Linked DNA regions of Homo sapiens: all the other regions are linked to region 1. Evidence: promoter capture Hi-C in 16 types of primary human blood cells and fetal thymus (Javierre and others, 2016). All regions are on one chromosome and are shown on one strand. Each heading gives the region's core, a stretch centred on a gene start or on the middle of the fragment in contact. The rest is flanking DNA. Distances are from core to core; before and after follow the strand shown. Region 1 holds the start of ARL8B (ARF like GTPase 8B). Region 2 overlaps ITPR1 (inositol 1,4,5-trisphosphate receptor type 1). Region 3 overlaps ITPR1 (inositol 1,4,5-trisphosphate receptor type 1). Region 4 overlaps ITPR1 (inositol 1,4,5-trisphosphate receptor type 1).

Region 1 (4,234 bases), core at 867-3,366:
TTTGGGAGGCCGTAGGCGAGCGGATCACGAGGTCAGGAGATCGAGACCATCCTGGCTAGCAGGGTGAAACCCCGTCTCTACTAAAAATACAAAAAATTAGCCGGGCGTGGTGGCGGACGCCTGTAGTCCCAACTACTCGGGAGGCTGAGGCAGGAGAATGGTGTGAACCCGGGAGGCGGAGCTTGCAGTGAGCCGAGATCGCATCACTGCACTCCAGCCTGGGCGACAGAGCGAGACTCCGTCTCAAAAAAAAAAAAAAAAAAAAGAAAGAAACAACAAACGACCAACATTAACGTTAAAATAGAGATCACAAGACTGACAGAACAGACTCTTTGTGACAATTAGATACCAAATTATAAACAGGACCTAAGGCCATACTAGGCAAGAGTTAAATGACTAAGTGCAAGGTTTCTCTTTTTCTCTACCAGCTAAACCAGCACTGGCCTGGAGATAAACACAATTAAAACAGTTACAACTCTCTGCCAGATGCAGGCTAACTGACCTGTTCCACAAGCCTAACTATGGCTTTGATTAGACAAGAGACTGATTTCTGTAACTTTCTCCTGTTAAGAGACAACTAACCATGCATCCATGCATTGGTTCTGGCTGGCTTTTTCTTTTCTTTCTTTCTTTTTTTTTTTTTTGAGATGAAGTCTCGCTCTGTCACCCAGGCTGGCGTGCAGTGGCATGACCTCGGTCACTGCAACCTCTGCCTCCCGGAGTCAAGCGATTCTCCTGCCTCAGCCTCCAGCATAGCTGGGATTACAGGCGCGTGCCACCATGTCCCGCTAATTTTTGTATTTTTAGTAGAGACGGGGTTTCACCATGTTGGTCGGGCTGGTCTTGAACTCCCAACCTGAGGTGATCTGCCCGCCTTGACCTCCCAAAGTGCTGGGATTACAGGCATGAGCCACTGCACCCGGCCTGGGCTAATTTTTTGTATCTTTAGTAGAGACGGGGTTTCACCTTGTTGGCCAGGCTGGTCTCAAACTCCTGACCTCCTGATCCACCTGCCTCAGCCTCTCAAAGTGTTTGGATTACAGGCTGTGAGCCACCGCGCCCAGCCCAGTTCTGGCTGGTTTTACAGAGGCCAAGCACTTCAATACCTTTCCCGTCCCTGATTCACTTTCTGATGTGGAGGGCCTGATTATAATACTTTTACTTTATTTATTTTTTAATTGTTGTTTTTTGAGACGAGGGTCTCACTCTATCACCCAGGCTGAAGTGCAGTGGCATGATCTCAGCTCACTGCAACCTTCGCCTCCTGGGTTCACACAATTCTCCCACCTCGGCTTCCCAAGCAGCTGAGGCTACAGGTGCATGCCACCACGTTCGGCTAATTTTGTATTTTTAGTAGAGATGGGGCTTCACCATGTTGGTCAGGCTGGTCTCAAACTCCTGACCTCAGGTGATCTGCCCACCTTTGCCTCCCAAAGTGCTGGGATTACAGGCATGAGCCACCGCGCCCTGCCTGATTATAATACATTTAAATGTTAAGTCGCCACCCCAAATGAACATAGGTCATATGCAACATACAGATTTGTTCACTATGTGTGTAAGACCACCTTCATACATATTAATAGCTCCTTCCATAAGTTAAATATGTTTACTTGGCCAACTCCTCAATATAAATTCTTGTTGCACCCTTCCCTCTCTCAAAGTGCTTACTTTTGTTTTTTTTGGCCCGAGGCTGCACGTCCTGCCTACAGCTTATAATCCCCTTCTTAAGAAATAATGCTCTCCTTTCTAAATTTATAAACGGTGTCATTTTTAAGTTAACACTATCTTTTGCTACTACCAAAAATGTAGGACAGGAATTTTTATTCCACGCCAACTCTTCCAGAGTCTTGAAGTCTTCCTGCAGATTGTTAATGAACAATTATAGCAAAAAATGAATGAATGAATTAACGAATGTATAAGTGGATGAATGACGAATGAACCAACAATGAATGAATGTAGAGAAAGCCTCAAGGGGGCCCGAGGGTACGCTGTGCTGCGGAGCATGCCCACCAGGTGGCGATGCCAGCGGCGGGCGGGCCTGGCCGGATTGGCCGCGCCGCTCTTGCCGTGGGTGCCGACGGCGGCGCCGGGACGGGCGTGGGGGGTAGGGCGAGTCATATGATCCGCTCGGCTTCCTGGGTCTGGCTGCTGCCGCCCGCCGGTGTCCGCCCGTGTCGCGCCGGGGCACCAAGGAGCCGTTGGAGGGTCCGGGCGGAGGCCCGCTCGTGTGGAAGTCGTCGACGCCGCCGCTCGTCCGTCCTCCCGTCCGTTCTCGCTCCCGGCCGCCATCATGCTGGCGCTCATCTCCCGCCTGCTGGACTGGTTCCGTTCGCTCTTCTGGAAGGAAGAGATGGAGCTGACGCTCGTGGGGCTGCAGTACTCGGGCAAGACCACCTTCGTCAATGTCATCGCGGTGAGCGCCCGCCCACTCACTCGCCCGGGGCTCCGCAGCCAGGAGTCCGGCCCGGCGCTTCTCCAAGGCCTGAGTTGGGGCCCCCCTCGGCGCGATGGGACTGATGGCGGGGGGCGTGCGAAGCTGGGCCTGTCATCTCCCGAGGGCCAGCATTTGGAATTTCCCGCGTGTTGGCGGCGCGGGGAGTAGCACTGAGATCGGCAGCGGAAGGGTTAAGTCAGTGTAGACATTTTCCAAGGGCTGTGTCCTCAACGCCGCGGGGGCTCGGAAAGAGTTAAATTGAACTCGTCACATTTTTAAAGCGCTTGGGGATTGGGGTTTCCCTTGGGTTTGCCCAGTAGGGGCAGCCAAAGAGTTAAGTCCAGTCTGTCACTTTCCCAAAGGGTGGGATTTGGCAAATCCGTCAGCCGTACGAGAAAGCGTAAGCATTAAGAGCCTCTCTTAAGTTGCCACTTTGGACCAATAGACCCATTGTGAAAGCGGGAGACCAGTGTGAGCGCCTTCCTGAATTCTGTGGGCCGCTGGTCCCATCTAATTCAGTTACTTGTTTTCACCCGTCCCCCAGGCGCGGAGACCAAGCTCATTGCTGAGCTCCAGCTAGCCCACAATACATAGTATTTATTAAGCTAAGAGTTAATTGTCTTAAGCGACTAGATAAGATGGATCTGCAGTTAGCATAAAGTTAACTACCCTGCGAAAGAGGAGTTGGTCTTTAAATGGTGTTTTTCACTTGAAGAGAAAAGAAGGTACTGGGCAGGAACATAGCTTAGCAGGCCTAGGGAATGGGTGGAAGGAAAATTGCACTGAGGACTTACATAGAATGTGGTGTTTGTTCAGCAATGATTGAGTAGAAAGGTGATTGTTTCGTTTTGCTTGTTTGGTTGGTTGGGAAATAAATAGGAGTGAAAGATTTCGCCTCGATCTTTATTTAGAGCCCAAGAGTTGTTGTGACTCAGTTTTAGCTGGTAGTGGCTTGTACACGCCAGGGGAGTTTTAGAACTGTTCTGAAGAGAGATGGCAGCAGTTCTTCCACCTTTTCGATGACTGTTGAAATCCTGAAGATTAGCTGTCCGACTGGTTAGGTTACACAAGATGATTCAAACACAGCTTTCATGTTTGAGAAAATAGGTAACTTGTGATTCTTAGTCCTTGCACTAATAAAGCAACAGGAATGAGTAAGTCTTGGAGAAAAAGAGATTAGCAGAAACCCCAAAGTCCTTTGAAGAATGATGTATATAAGGAAGATTTACCTGCTTGTTGTTCGGCTCCTTTTCTAGTAGTATTATTATTAATTTTTTTTCTTGAGACGGAGTCTCGCTTTGTCCCCCAGGCTGGAGTGCAGTGGCGAGATCTCAGCTCACTGCAACCTCCACCTCCCAGGTTCAAGCGATTTTCCTGCCTCCACCTCCTGCGTAGCTGGGATTACAGACGTCCTCCACCACGCCCGGCTAATTACTTTTAGTAGAGATGGGTTTTGCTTTGTTGCTCAGGCTAGTCTCAAAACTCCTGACCTCATGTGATCCGCCCGACTCGGCCTCTTAAAATGCTGGGATTGCAGGTGTGAGCCACCGCGCCTGGCCTCCTATTGTAATATTATGATTTTTTGCGCTTGGAATGACTATCTTTCCGCAGGAATAGAAGAGTGGAATGTGTATCTAATACCACTAATTTTTTTTTTTTTTTTTTTTTTTTTTTTCTGGTAGAGACAAGATCTTCCTATGTTGCCAGGCCAGCCTTGAACTCCTGGGCTCAAGCGAGCCTCCTGCCTCGGCCTCCCAAAGTGCTGGCATTACAGGCATGAGCCACCGTTCCTGGCCTAAT
Region 2 (4,234 bases), core at 1,124-3,623, 480 kb before region 1:
GAAAAATATGCCGCAAACAGCATGAAATAGTCTCAAAATGCTCAACCAGCCTTAACTTTAAAACTGGTTTTGACACTTTTTAATAGTGCCATTTAAATTTACAAGCTTTGGGAAGTTTAAATATGTTTGTGTATTTGTGTGTATAAGATAGGGAATGTACCAGAAACATCTAGTACCAGACCATTCCCTCATAGTTGGTAAATAATTGATCCTTAACAGTGAACAGAAAGAAAAGCCCAGTAAAACTTAGGTTTCACCAAAAGTGTTGGATTTATTGAATGAACTTATATTCATTTGGAGTTAGAGAAAATTCAATTGTATATGCTCCTCAAATGTGATAAGCTTGAAAATAGATGGTTTTTCATGTTAGGAAACCATCTTTTCTAACCAAAAATAAAAGACAAGTGTGCCTTGTTCTGAATTTCATTTTCAGCACATCCTTTGGTTTCCTATCCTTTAAACGAATCTGTGTGTGGCCATGGCTTAGTTGAGAAGATGAGATGGACTTGAATTTAAAATAATATTTTACAAAGAATAGGTGTAGACCCATTTGTGGGCCATGAAATCAGTTTAGTGGCTTGTGACTATCCTTTTTGAAAGTGGGATAGAACAGAAAGATCAGACTGTGTTACATCACATAATGATAAGTATTGTTTTTTTGGGGGGGGGGTAACTTTTGTTTTAGTTACATATATATATAGTATTATAATTATAGAAACATGCGTATAAGTCTCAATGGCTGTATATATGACTTGATCATAGACCATGTATTTCCGAATGTTATAGTAAAAATATGAAAGTAATTGTTTTAGAAACATAAAGTTATGGCTTTGTCAAAGATAAAGACTTACTCTGACTCTATCTTGTTTTTTCTTAAATTTAGTTAAAACTTACTTATATAGGTACCTTAAACTGAACAGTTTTTTTTTTTTTTCCTGCTCTGAACTGGCTTTGAAACATCTCTGTATAATCAGTGACACTCGAGGAACAACATTCAGGCTTAGCCTTGTAAACATGACCCCCTCTGCACAGGGTCAGGTTTTAAAGAAGGCGTGGTGTGTGCTACATCTTTATACTTGCTGGGGATAGGCCTTGCCTTCTTCAGCACAGACTCATATGTCTTCTAGAACTGCCCAGTGGTCAATCCGCAGTCCTTATCAGTTTTGTGCAAAGCTCTATTGCTCCTTTCCATTCCAGGTGGTCATAGGTGACAAGGTGGTTCTGAACCCCGTCAATGCTGGTCAGCCCCTACATGCTAGCAGCCATCAACTGGTAGATAACCCAGGCTGCAATGAGGTAAGGACATTGAGTTATGTGTGTGGGTGTGGTTATCCTGCAGGAGCGGGTCTGGCAGGCGCCAGTGCATGCGTGTGCTGAGAGTGACTTCAGCAGTGACTTGGGGCAGGGTGCCCATTCTGCAGGTGAAGAAACAGGCCCAGGGTCAAGGCTGCCGTGTAAGGTTGTGCAACTGTGTGCAGTGGGTAGTAGATGTGGGCTGATACTCACTCTAGTGCTCAGTTTGTGAAGCCTTGCGTCACTGAGGGGTTGTTTTTTCATTGGTGAAGCCAGAGATGAACCCTTTTACTAATTTTTTTCTGGCCATAGGAGCACCTTTTTCTAATTTGTCTCCATATACAGGGTGCCTCTTTTTAACTGTTCAAAAAGGAACACTGCAGCTTATCAGCAGCCCTGCAAGAGTGATAGCTTGCTTTTGGCAATACATCTACTTCTCCTCTAAATTAGCAATTATAGGATGCAAGGATGTTACTTCCTTGTGACATAAATATTTGTCTGATGGGTAAAGACATAAACTCTTCAGTGGGATAGATGTGGGTTCACATCCTGTCTGCCTTTCCAAGCTCTGTGACGGCAGGTTGGTTACCCGGTCTCCCTGCATATCAGTTTCCTTATCTCTGAAATGGGGGCGGCGGTCGGACCTATTTTTCAGGGTGTTGCCAAGAATTAAAGGAGATTGTGCGTGTTAGCACCTAAACCTAGTGCCTGGCACAGATTTAGTGCACAAACAATGGCTGCTGTTGTTAACAATGATCATTAACATTTTCGAGTGTATACACTGGACTCATTTTTTTTCCCTTTATGGCTCATCCCATTTTATAAGTACTTATTTTCATCAGGCCTTTACTTTCTGGCTACAGAACAAGAGACTTGGAGGAAAATGAAAATATCATTCCAGAAAGGCAGGAGGCTTGGTTCCATTAGTCATGGTTGGAATGTGCATAGTGATTGGTGCAAATGAACCATTTATTTCCAAACTCTGCCAGCAGGCCAGTTGATTTTGCAGGTGCTGTGATTTTAGTGGCGTCAATCTTTAGAGTTTTTAGTCTCAAGTACAGCCTTGCTTCCTAGGCTGCGGTGAGAAGTCTGGGGGCTGGATGACACAGTTGTTGTGAGGGGTACGTGAAAAAATAACTCGAATCTGTGTTTCAGGTCAATTCCGTCAACTGCAATACAAGCTGGAAAATAGTCCTTTTCATGAAATGGAGTGATAACAAAGACGACATATTAAAGGGGGTGAGTTTGATGCTTTATGGGCTGAGCATTACTTGGCTCTTCTTGGGGGCAGCAGTCTAATTCTCTTTTTAAATTCTTTTTTCCTTAATTCTTTCTTGTGTTGACTGTCAGGGTGACGTGGTGAGGCTGTTTCATGCTGAGCAGGAGAAGTTTCTCACCTGTGACGAACACAGGAAGAAGCAGCACGTCTTCCTGAGAACCACGGGCCGGCAGTCGGCCACATCTGCCACCAGTTCAAAAGCCCTGTGGGAGGTGGAGGTAAGGGTAGGGTGGAGAAAGGGCTCCTGGGTTTAGAGGATATCAGCCTGTATATAGGCTCTCTCTCTCTCTATCCTACAAATATTCATACATACATATACCTATATGTGTCTATACACCCACATACACACACCTACACACACACACAGAATACATGTGTGTGTATATATATAAGTCACAAACAAGTACTTATACCCACCTTATTCCAAAAATGGGTTGGGGATGGCATAGTGAAGTAAGTGCATCATGGCATATCATGGTGCTGCATATTTGTGCAGAAGGAAAGAATAAGTACTTTGGAAACAAATTCAAAAACGAAATTAGAAATAGCTTTCTCTGAGCCATCTAATCCCTTCTATTGTTTTCTTTCCCTTGCTCATTTATCTATCACAACAATATTTAACCAGGTGTCTACCTGACACAATACATAGGTGATGCCCACATTGGTGATGGGGCAGAAATGAGAAGATATACACCCAGATAACTGGAACACACAAGGGGATGGTGAAGGTGGTAAGAGGCATATTCCACATGCTCTGGAGGTTTCAGTGAGAGAGGGTGAATGTCTGGGTGGGTGAAGAATTAAGGAAGACTTCCTGAAGGAGATAGCATCTGATCTGGTACCTGCAGGATGATTTGTATTTCAGAAGGAAGAGATGAATGGAGTAGGTTACTTCATGTAAGAGAATGGTGCAGAATGTGGAAACGTGAAGCAGCGTGGGATAAAACTCAGTAACTTGTTTGGTGAAGGGCACGGGATAGGCATGGGAAATTAAACAGAACTGTTTTTGGAGACCAGAGGCTGAAGGGCCATATATCCAGGCTATAGGGAGTTGGGATTTAATTTATGGGCAGGGGAGAAATTTGGAAAGTTGTTTGAGGAAGGGAATAACATAATCAGTGTGCAACTTAAAGAAGCTAGAAGATTCTGCCCACAGCATGTAATTTGTTGTAAGGAGAGTCTAGAATTGCAGGACAAAGAAGGAAATGTTCTGAATGCTTGGTGAAAGAGGCAATGAGAGCTTCAACTAACATGGAGCTCTTTCTTCACCTCAAGCCTTCCTTTCTGTGTAATTGCAGCATGAATTAGAATTCTAATTCAAATTTCTAATTTGAATAGATAAATTTTTCTGTCTCTGCTTGCGTTCTCTTTTCCTCCTCCCTAGCTTCAATTGTTTCATGTTGCTACTGAGGTCTAGCCTATGTATAGTATAGTAAAGTGCCCAAGTCAAGAGTATACAACTCAATGAATTTTTACGTATACGTTCAGCCATGTAACCAGCACCTAGAACAAGAAATAGAATGATAGCAGCACCCAGAAGGTCCCTTGAGCCTCTCTTTCTAGGCAATGTTTCCTTTTTCCTCCTGGAGACTTCTATTGCCTGTTCTTGAACTTTGTATAAATGGAGTCATACAGTATACAGTCTTTATGTTCTGTTTTTTT
Region 3 (4,234 bases), core at 1,143-3,642, 450 kb before region 1:
AACCAAAAACCTGTCCAGAGACATTGCCTGGTGTCCACTGGGGGCAGCAGCACCATAGTCGAGAACCACTGGGTTACAGTATATGAAGATGTTAATGTCAGGCTCTCTGCGGCTCTGCCCTTGGGGGAAATACAAAACAAAAAGTGTCTTTCCATGTGTCTTTATGCTGAAAGTAAAGCTAGATCTCAAAGTATTTTTAAAAATAGTAACTTTTCCCTCCTCCTCTTGTTTTCTAGGTTGGTTCTTTCTCGTTTTGAATTTGAAGGTGTCTCTTCCACTGGAGAGAATGCTCTGGAGGCAGGAGAAGACGAGGAAGAGGTGTGGCTGTTTTGGAGGGACAGCAACAAAGAGATTCGCAGCAAGAGTGTGAGGGAATTGGCTCAGGATGCTAAAGAAGGGCAGAAGGAGGACCGAGACGTTCTCAGCTACTACAGGTGCGTGGGACACGTGTGGGGCTCAGATTGGGGTGCCCCAAAACAGTGGCACTTAGGAATTTGTTGCTCGTTTGTTGATTACTTCAAGGAATCACAAGGAGTCATCTTGTAAGATTGTCTAGAAAAAAGCCAGATGTGTGTTTTAGGAGTTTGGAGTGTAAGATTTCAGTTAGTTGACATCTGGATGTGGCTGGTTCCCAAAAAGGATGAGTGCTTGCCTCAGTCCCTGGTGATAGTTTATCCTTCAGCAGCATGGCCCATAGATATGGTGGTAGGTACGTAAGAGGCAGGCTGTGGGGTCACATCCCTACCTCTCCGCTTACCAGTTTTTTGACATTGGCCAAGTTTGATTTTATGCTCTAATTTCTTTATCTGCAAAATGAAGGTGATAGTGCCAATCTCACCAAATGTTTATAGACAGAGACAGAAGATGTGTGTGTTTGTATACACATATATCTACACATTCATCCATGTATCTTTCTATAACTACACAAATATATAATAAAAAGCATGTACTTACACTAATACTTCCAATTCCATTCCAACACCATAGGATTTATTCTAGCCTTCACCTTTTCCATTTCATGACTCCCTCCAGCTGCCACGATTCCCTGTATGTTTACCCATCTGCCCGTTTCCCTGTGTGTACCTGTCTCACCTCTGCCACCCACCTCCACGGTCCCCAGTGTCTCCTTGGCTCCAGCTGTAAGACCTGCCAGTCCTGCCACCTGAAGGGAAGGGAAGGGGAAGAAAGAAAGGAAGTGAACCAATTAATACTTTTAAAAGAAAAGGAAAGGGAAGATAAAGCAAGGCTTTTATTATTTTTTAATAAAATAAATAAAACTGCAGATAAAATGCCTTTTCTTGCCTCCTGTATTCTGTTCTTTCATTCATGTGTGATGTACGCATCCTATCCACATTCTCTGTGTGCTGCATTTGTATGCATCTGTAAATCATATGTAGTATTTTATCTCTACTTAAAATTTTATATAAATGGGACTGTACTCCAAATACCATTCTAAAACTTGCCTTATTTATTCAATACGGGTACTGAAGCCATATTGAATATATCTGCGTTAATAGAGATTAATCCATTTCTGTAATTTGGACTGTTGGATGATATTCTGTTTTATTGATTTATCACATTTTCATCGCTGTTTGATATTTGATCACATGCTGCAGTTCTTCATGTCAGGAAACATCTTCATTCAAATTTTTCTGAGTATATGTATGAATTTCCATTCCACACTGGGAGGTGGGCTTGGAGGATATTCATATTTTAAGCTTTACTAAGCAATTCTAAATTGGATGTGTCAGTGTACACACCCACCAGTTGTAGACGACAAGCTTTGTTTCTTCATGTCTTTGTTAACCTTGAATATCATGATGCTTTTTAATTTTTGGTAATTTTATAAGTGTGAAATAGACTCATGTCTACACTTGCATTTCCCCGACATCTAATGAGGCTGAGAATGTCTTCAAATCATGATTATTAGAAATACATAGAGTTTTTAATTCAGAAGGCAGTATTTTGAAAGCCTGTGGCTTTCTCGTTATTTCACATTTCAAGTATGTTTACTCTTTCAGTGTTTGATGAATCTTCTCCCAAGTGAATGAGAAAGAGTGCCTTAATTGGTCAGGTTCCAGTTAACAACATTCACTTGCAATTGGATGAAGATGAAAAGTGAGGAGTCTCCTACTTTTGTAAATGAAATGTTTTTTTACACGTGTAGGAATTAGAGTGACTTACATGATATAAGATCTTTAAAATGTTATAAAATTTCTAATTAGGCTGAATATGTGTGATATCTTGAACATTTCCTACATGGTCTTTACTGTATAAAACACAGCTGAAGGGAAAGAAATAGACAACCATCTTAGGCCTTAGCATTCCCCCCGTTTATTTTAAAAAGTAAACATTAAGGACCTAGTGGAATTAGGTCGTCACATAATTGCTCCAACACAGCTGGATAGACATGTGTTCCTGTTGGCTGTCAACCCACACTCTACTGCACAGCTTGAATAGTTCTTTTATCTGCTTGGTACCAAAGCCAAAATCCTGGTATACAAGAGCAATTTAGGGGTGTTGATGTATGAGTTTAGTTGGCCAAATGTCACTCCCATGACAGTCAGGGCTGCCCAGACGACCCTTCATTCATCCTGAATGATTTCTGGAGCGTGAGCTGTGTGCCCTTGTTCCTTCCTCTAGATATCAGCTGAACCTCTTTGCGAGGATGTGTCTGGACCGCCAATACCTGGCCATCAACGAAATCTCAGGCCAGCTGGATGTCGATCTCATTCTCCGCTGCATGTCTGACGAGAACCTGCCCTATGACCTCAGGGCGTCCTTCTGCCGCCTCATGCTTCACATGCATGTGGACCGAGATCCCCAGGAACAAGTCACCCCCGTGAAATATGCCCGCCTCTGGTCGGAGATTCCCTCGGAGATCGCCATTGACGAGTGAGCCTGGCACCTGAAAACCTCACTTTACATTATTCTGTGCGGCAGTAGATAGCCCCATATGGTCTCATTAAATCTTAGAAGAAAGATGAAGTGTTGGTTTTTTCTTCAAGCTTAAAATAAAATTAAGTGGATGGCAAATATTTTTTTCCTCAAGAATGTGAAAGATGGCATGATTATGTTTTTGGTTTTTGTTTGTTTGTTTGTTTGTTTGAGATGGAGTCTCACTCTGTTGCCCAGGCTGAACTGCAGTGGCGCAATCTCGGCTCACTACAAGCTCTGCCTCCCGGGTTCGTGCCATTCTCCTTCCTCAGCCTCCCAAGTAGCTGGGACTACAGACGCCCACCACCACGCCCGGCTAATTTTTTGTATTTTTAGTAGGGACGGGGTTTCACCGTGTTAGCTAGGACGGTCTCGATCTCCTGACCTTGTGAGCCGTCCACCTCGGCCTCCCAAAGTGCTGGGATTACAGGCGTGAGCCACCGCGCCTGGCCCCGATTGTATTTTTTATATCTCATTTATCTCCTCTTTCATTCTGCAAATATTTAAGTGTGTACTATGTGCCAAGCTCAAGAAATATATCAGTGAACAAACTAGAAAGCAATCTCTATGCTAGTTGGTGGAAGACAGACAATAGGCAAGATAAACGACTCAAATATATAGTTGGTGATATATGCTAAGGAGGGAAAAAATAAAGTAGGGTCAAGGGATGCCAAGGGTTAGGGGATGTTGACTTTTGAAGCTGAGTGACCCAGGAAGACCTCTCTGGGAATAACTTGAAATTTTGTTTCCTTTCTTTCTCCTTTCTTTTCAGCTATGATAGTAGTGGAGCTTCCAAAGATGAAATTAAGGAGAGATTTGCTCAGACCATGGAGTTTGTGGAGGAGTATTTAAGAGATGTGGTTTGTCAGAGGTTCCCTTTCTCTGATAAAGAGAAGAATAAGCTTACGTTTGAGGTAACTCATGATGAAATCTTCTATGTGTATTATCTGCCTCTCAGTGGTCATTTTTCTATGGGGCAAATAGAAAATATGTGAGTAGGTTGTGATTTTGGTCATGATGCTCTGGTTTTGTAATGGAAAGGAATTCAGCTTGGTTTTGTTCCAGAATAAAATAAAACGGATACCAGTCACATGGCTTAATAGTAGTTATGGGCTTAAAAGAAATATACAAGGTGACTTGAACCACATAAAATGATAGAACATCACTTTGTGTTAAAACTGACAAGAGAGAAACACTGTGCTTGCAATCTGCCATAGCTTAATCATTTGCAGAACATAAATCCTTGTTACTTCTGAGTTAACAACGTTTCTGAGACTGCTTTTGCCTTTTAAGAGCT
Region 4 (4,234 bases), core at 1,276-3,775, 430 kb before region 1:
GAAACCCTTGTGCTCCCAAGCATTTTGGATGAGGGATACTCAACCTGTGTTCCCTCAGTGTCATGTTAAGAGAAAGAAAAGTCAAAAGATAAAAAGATTAAAGCCACCACCTCACCCCAAATATAAAACTCAATAACTGTGGGTAAAAAGTGAAAAATAAGCCTTCTAGAAGGTAACATGAGAATCTTCATGGCTGTGTGGTAAGCAAAATTTTCTTACAAGGCATGCAAAGAACACTATTTTTGAAAATTGATAAATGGGCCTTCTTTTAAGAACTTCTGTTTGTCCGCTGACACCATTAAGAGCATCCAAAGGGGAGGCAGAGAGTAAAAGACATTTGCGATGCACGTTCTCAACAAAGAATTCATATCCAGAATGTACATAACACACTCAAAAAAGTCACTAAGGAAAAAGTTGACCTTCTTTTAAAAATAGGCCAGGCATGGTGGCTCACGCCTGTAATCCCAGCACTTTGGGAGGCCAAGGCAGGCGGATCACTTGAGATCAGGAGTTTGAGACCAGCCTGGCCAACATGGTGAAACCTTATCTCTATTAAAAATACAAATATTAGTTGGGTATGATGGTGAGCACCTGTAATTCAGCTACTTGGAGGCTGAGGCAGGAGAATAGCTTGAACTCAGGAGGTGGAGGTTGCAGTGAGCCAAGATTGCACCACTGCATTCCAGCCTGGGTGACAAAGCAAGACTGTATCTCAAATAAATAAATAAGTAAATAAGAACGTAAAGGCAAAAAACTTGAACAGACACCCTGTTGGAGAGGATATCCAAATGGCCAGTAAATGTGACAAAGTGTTCAACATGATTAGACATCAGAGAAATGCAAATTAAGTTATGTTTAGCCACAATAAGATGTGGCTAAAATTTAAAAGACTGACAATACTAAGTGTTGACAAGGATAGGAACAGCTGGAATGTAGAATGCAACTTGTTAACATCTTTTGAAAGCTGTCAGTATCTTCTAAAGCCAAACATACTCATACTTTGTGACCCAACAATTCTGTTCTTAGACCCAAAAGAAGTATGGGTTTAAGTTCACCAGAAGACATGTGTAAGAATGTTCACAGCAACTCTAGTATTTATAATACTAGGAATGTTACTATCTATTAAAACTGGATCCTACTCCAAATGCCCTTCCACCATAGAATAAAGATACTGTCATATATTCATGCAATGGAACTTACATATCAGTGAAAAAGAGTGCAAGAGGTTTAAGAACAGGCAAAACTAATCTGGTTATATAAGTCAAAATAGTAGTTAAATTGTGAGATAAGGCATAAAGGAGACCTGTTTTGTTTCTTGATCTGGGTGTTCAAGGTCCCTTTATAATCTATTCAGCTGAATGCTAATGAGTTGTTTACTTTTCTGTATGTTTATTTATATGTCAATGAAAAAAGCTTACTAAAAAAGAAGGTAGTACAGAAGCAAGAATGAGAGAAACATATCTTCATGGGTTTAAATGCTTCCCTTGTGTGTGTTTCAGTGGACTCTTCTTTTTCTCACTTTTTAATCTGTTCTGTCAGCTTTTTGACTTGTCCCTGTGCTCTTTTCCTCACTCTTGTGCCAGATCCTGGAGGCAGTAACCATGCAGCACATCTTCATGAACAATTTCCAGCTTTGCAGTGAGATCAACGAGAGAGTTGTTCAGCACTTCGTTCACTGCATAGAGACTCACGGTCGGAATGTCCAGTATATAAAGTTCTTACAGACAATTGTCAAGGCAGAAGGGAAATTTATTAAAAAATGCCAAGACATGGTTATGGCCGAGGTGATTGTTATATATTTCTGTATACCTCCATCTGGTGTTCTGTAGAAATTTTAAAATTATTTAATCTTATCTGTATGAACTTGCACCCTCTTCAGGAGCCATACAGAAGGACAGAAAGTAATTGTGTGTGCATATGTCTGTGTCATCTCTTGTGTGAGCTTAAGTTGTAGATATAGGCAAGAATCTGATCTGATATTTCATAGCAACCAATTTAAGGAAGGATGGCTTGGATTTTTCTGACAGGGGACAGAAAGAGGAATAAGGAACTGAATTATAGGGAATGGAGATAAAATGTAGTCAGGACCCAGTGAGCCAGAACGCTTCCATTCTTGTGGATTATGAATTTTAAAAATTATTCACCTAATTAATTAGATGGAAAAAATTTTGCCTGATGCTTTTTGAGGAGCAGTTGGTCTGTGGAATCAAGGAAAAGCCTTACTTGGTTTATTATGAATTCACTTTGATTTACAATCTTGTCTACGTATATGGTTCCATTGGCAGGGAGGGTAGTGTGATTAAGAGTTGAGGCCAACGTGGTGGCTCATGCCTGTAATCCCAGCTCTTTGGGAGGCTGAGGCAGGAGCATCACTTGAGGCCAGGAGTACAGGACCAGCCTGGGCAACATAGTAAGACCCTTGTTTCTACAAAAAATTTTAAAAATTAGCTGGGTGTAGTGGCATGTGCCCATAATCCCAGTTACAGAGGAAGATCCCTTGAGCCCAGGATTTTGACCTTGCAGTGAGCTATGATGGCACCCACTGCACTCCAGCCTGGGCAACAGAGTGAGACGTTGTCTCTTAGAAAAAAAATAAAAAAAAGAGAGAGTCGGCTCAACCTGGGATACAAATGTCACCTGAACCCCTTCACTGAAGGGTGCCATGAGATACATTACTTGACCTTTCAACTCCTCAGTGAGCTTTTCTATAACATGAAGATACGCAGATTTCACTTTAAAGAGTTGATATGTGGGGTAAATGAGATAATGGTGACATTAATGCCTAACACTTTTTGGAAGCCGGTCATACTCTAGGCACAGTCCTAAGCAGTTTGTCTATAATAAATTATTTAATCTACATAGCACTGTGAGTTAGCTATTGTATTTGTCCTGGTTTCACAGATGAAGAAACTGAGATACAATGAGGTTAGGAAGTTTGTCTAAAGAGTTTATCTTGGTATCTGGCATCTAATCATTAGAGCTCATAAAGGTTAGTCATTAGTAAGTATTGACCATGTTTATTTTGACTTCTGTGCCAGCCCTTTCTGGGTTTTTTGTACTTCATGTACTGCTGATGAAATCGATTTATTCTTAAATAAATTTGCAAGAAGCCTCATCTTAGGGGACAAGTTATAAACAGGAATGCCTCAACTTTTTGAAGAGTAAGTATGGAGAGGAAGGCATATCTTAATTAAAAGTAATTTGTTGATTGAAGAGATAAGATGGTAGATGAAAGAATTGTAAAGGGGATACATTGTAAAGCATAAAAATAAGATGGAGGCAGGGCACATTGGCTCACACCTATAATCCCAGCACTTTGGGAGGCCGAGTTGGGTGGATCATCTGAGGTTGAGAGTTCGAGACCAGCCTAGCCAACATGGGGAAACCCCGTCTCTACTAAAAATACAAAATTAGCCAGGCATGGTGGTGCATCCCTGTAATCCCAGCTACTCAGGAGGCTGAGGCAGGAGAATCGCTTGAACCAACCTGGGAGGCGGAGGTTGTGGTGAGCCGAGATCACGGCATTGCACTCCAGCCTGGGCAACAAGAGTGAAATTCCATCTCAAAAAAAATAAATAAGATGGAAACATTTAAAAAGAAATATCATAGCCTAATTGGTAGGTATGGAAATACCAGTGCAAGCTTGCAATCTCTGTTTCCACTTGATGCATTAATGCTGGTATGCAGGCTTTCTCTTCCCCTAATAGCTTTCTAGGGCCAGTGTGGTATTTCTGTATCTGTGGACTAAAATTATGATGCTGAAGATTTCTAGTTGTTCAGTTATATAAATGAATGAAGTCAAAATAGGTAAGACTGATTTGGGAAGATAAATGCTAACAGAACCTCTCTCTTCCTCTGTGAATAGATTTTTTTCATGCTGCCCCACCCCTGCAAGCTTGTAATCTAAACCCACCCTGTTCTTTATGTAGCTGGTCAATTCGGGAGAGGATGTCCTCGTGTTCTACAACGACAGAGCCTCTTTCCAGACTCTGATCCAGATGATGCGGTCAGAACGGGATCGGATGGATGAGAACAGCCCTCTCATGTACCACATCCACTTGGTCGAGCTCCTGGCTGTGTGCACGGAGGGTAAGAATGTCTACACAGAGATCAAGTGCAACTCCCTGCTCCCGCTGGATGACATCGTTCGCGTGGTGACCCACGAGGACTGCATCCCTGAGGTGAGCGAGCCCAGCCTGGCTGTGCCCTTCTCGTTGCTATGTGGTGTGTGCTG

The links. Contacts are between HindIII fragments. The CHiCAGO score rates a contact against its expected background, and 5 or more counts as called.
Region 2: a contact is called between a fragment that was not itself captured here and the fragment with the promoter of ARL8B in region 1, in 1 of 17 cell types (M2 macrophages). The highest score is 5.9, in M2 macrophages.
Region 3: a contact is called between a fragment that was not itself captured here and the fragment with the promoter of ARL8B in region 1, in 1 of 17 cell types (activated CD4 T cells). The highest score is 6.6, in activated CD4 T cells.
Region 4: a fragment that was not itself captured here is called in contact with the fragment with the promoter of ARL8B in region 1 in 1 of 17 cell types (activated CD4 T cells); the score reaches 5.2 in activated CD4 T cells.

Annotation. Positions count from the first base shown.
Region 1 is chr3:5,120,176-5,124,409 of GRCh38, forward strand. ARL8B (ARF like GTPase 8B) reads left to right here and starts at 2,117. Exons shown (of 7, transcript NM_018184.3): 1 at 2,117-2,413. The coding sequence starts at 2,291. It overlaps LOC124906212 (a long non-coding RNA gene), which reads left to right and starts at 2,884. Exons shown (of 2, transcript XR_007095800.1): 1 at 2,884-3,541. RefSeq lists a silencer at 1,923-2,182. The HindIII fragment of the contact is 19,308 bases long and covers 1-4,234 here.
Region 2 is chr3:4,642,939-4,647,172 of GRCh38, forward strand. It overlaps ITPR1 (inositol 1,4,5-trisphosphate receptor type 1), which reads left to right. Exons shown (of 62, transcript NM_001378452.1): 8 at 1,198-1,296; 9 at 2,449-2,532; 10 at 2,644-2,790. Among named protein-coding and RNA genes, the nearest start is that of EGOT, 110 kb to the right of the region's middle. The HindIII fragment of the contact is 4,067 bases long and covers 341-4,234 here.
Region 3 is chr3:4,670,493-4,674,726 of GRCh38, forward strand. ITPR1 (inositol 1,4,5-trisphosphate receptor type 1) reads left to right here. Exons shown (of 62, transcript NM_001378452.1): 20 at 237-434; 21 at 2,644-2,895; 22 at 3,710-3,851. Among named protein-coding and RNA genes, the nearest start is that of EGOT, 79 kb to the right of the region's middle. The HindIII fragment of the contact is 1,227 bases long and covers 1,780-3,006 here.
Region 4 is chr3:4,689,561-4,693,794 of GRCh38, forward strand. It overlaps ITPR1 (inositol 1,4,5-trisphosphate receptor type 1), which reads left to right. Exons shown (of 62, transcript NM_001378452.1): 32 at 1,584-1,784; 33 at 3,930-4,181. Among named protein-coding and RNA genes, the nearest start is that of EGOT, 60 kb to the right of the region's middle. The HindIII fragment of the contact is 2,229 bases long and covers 1,412-3,640 here.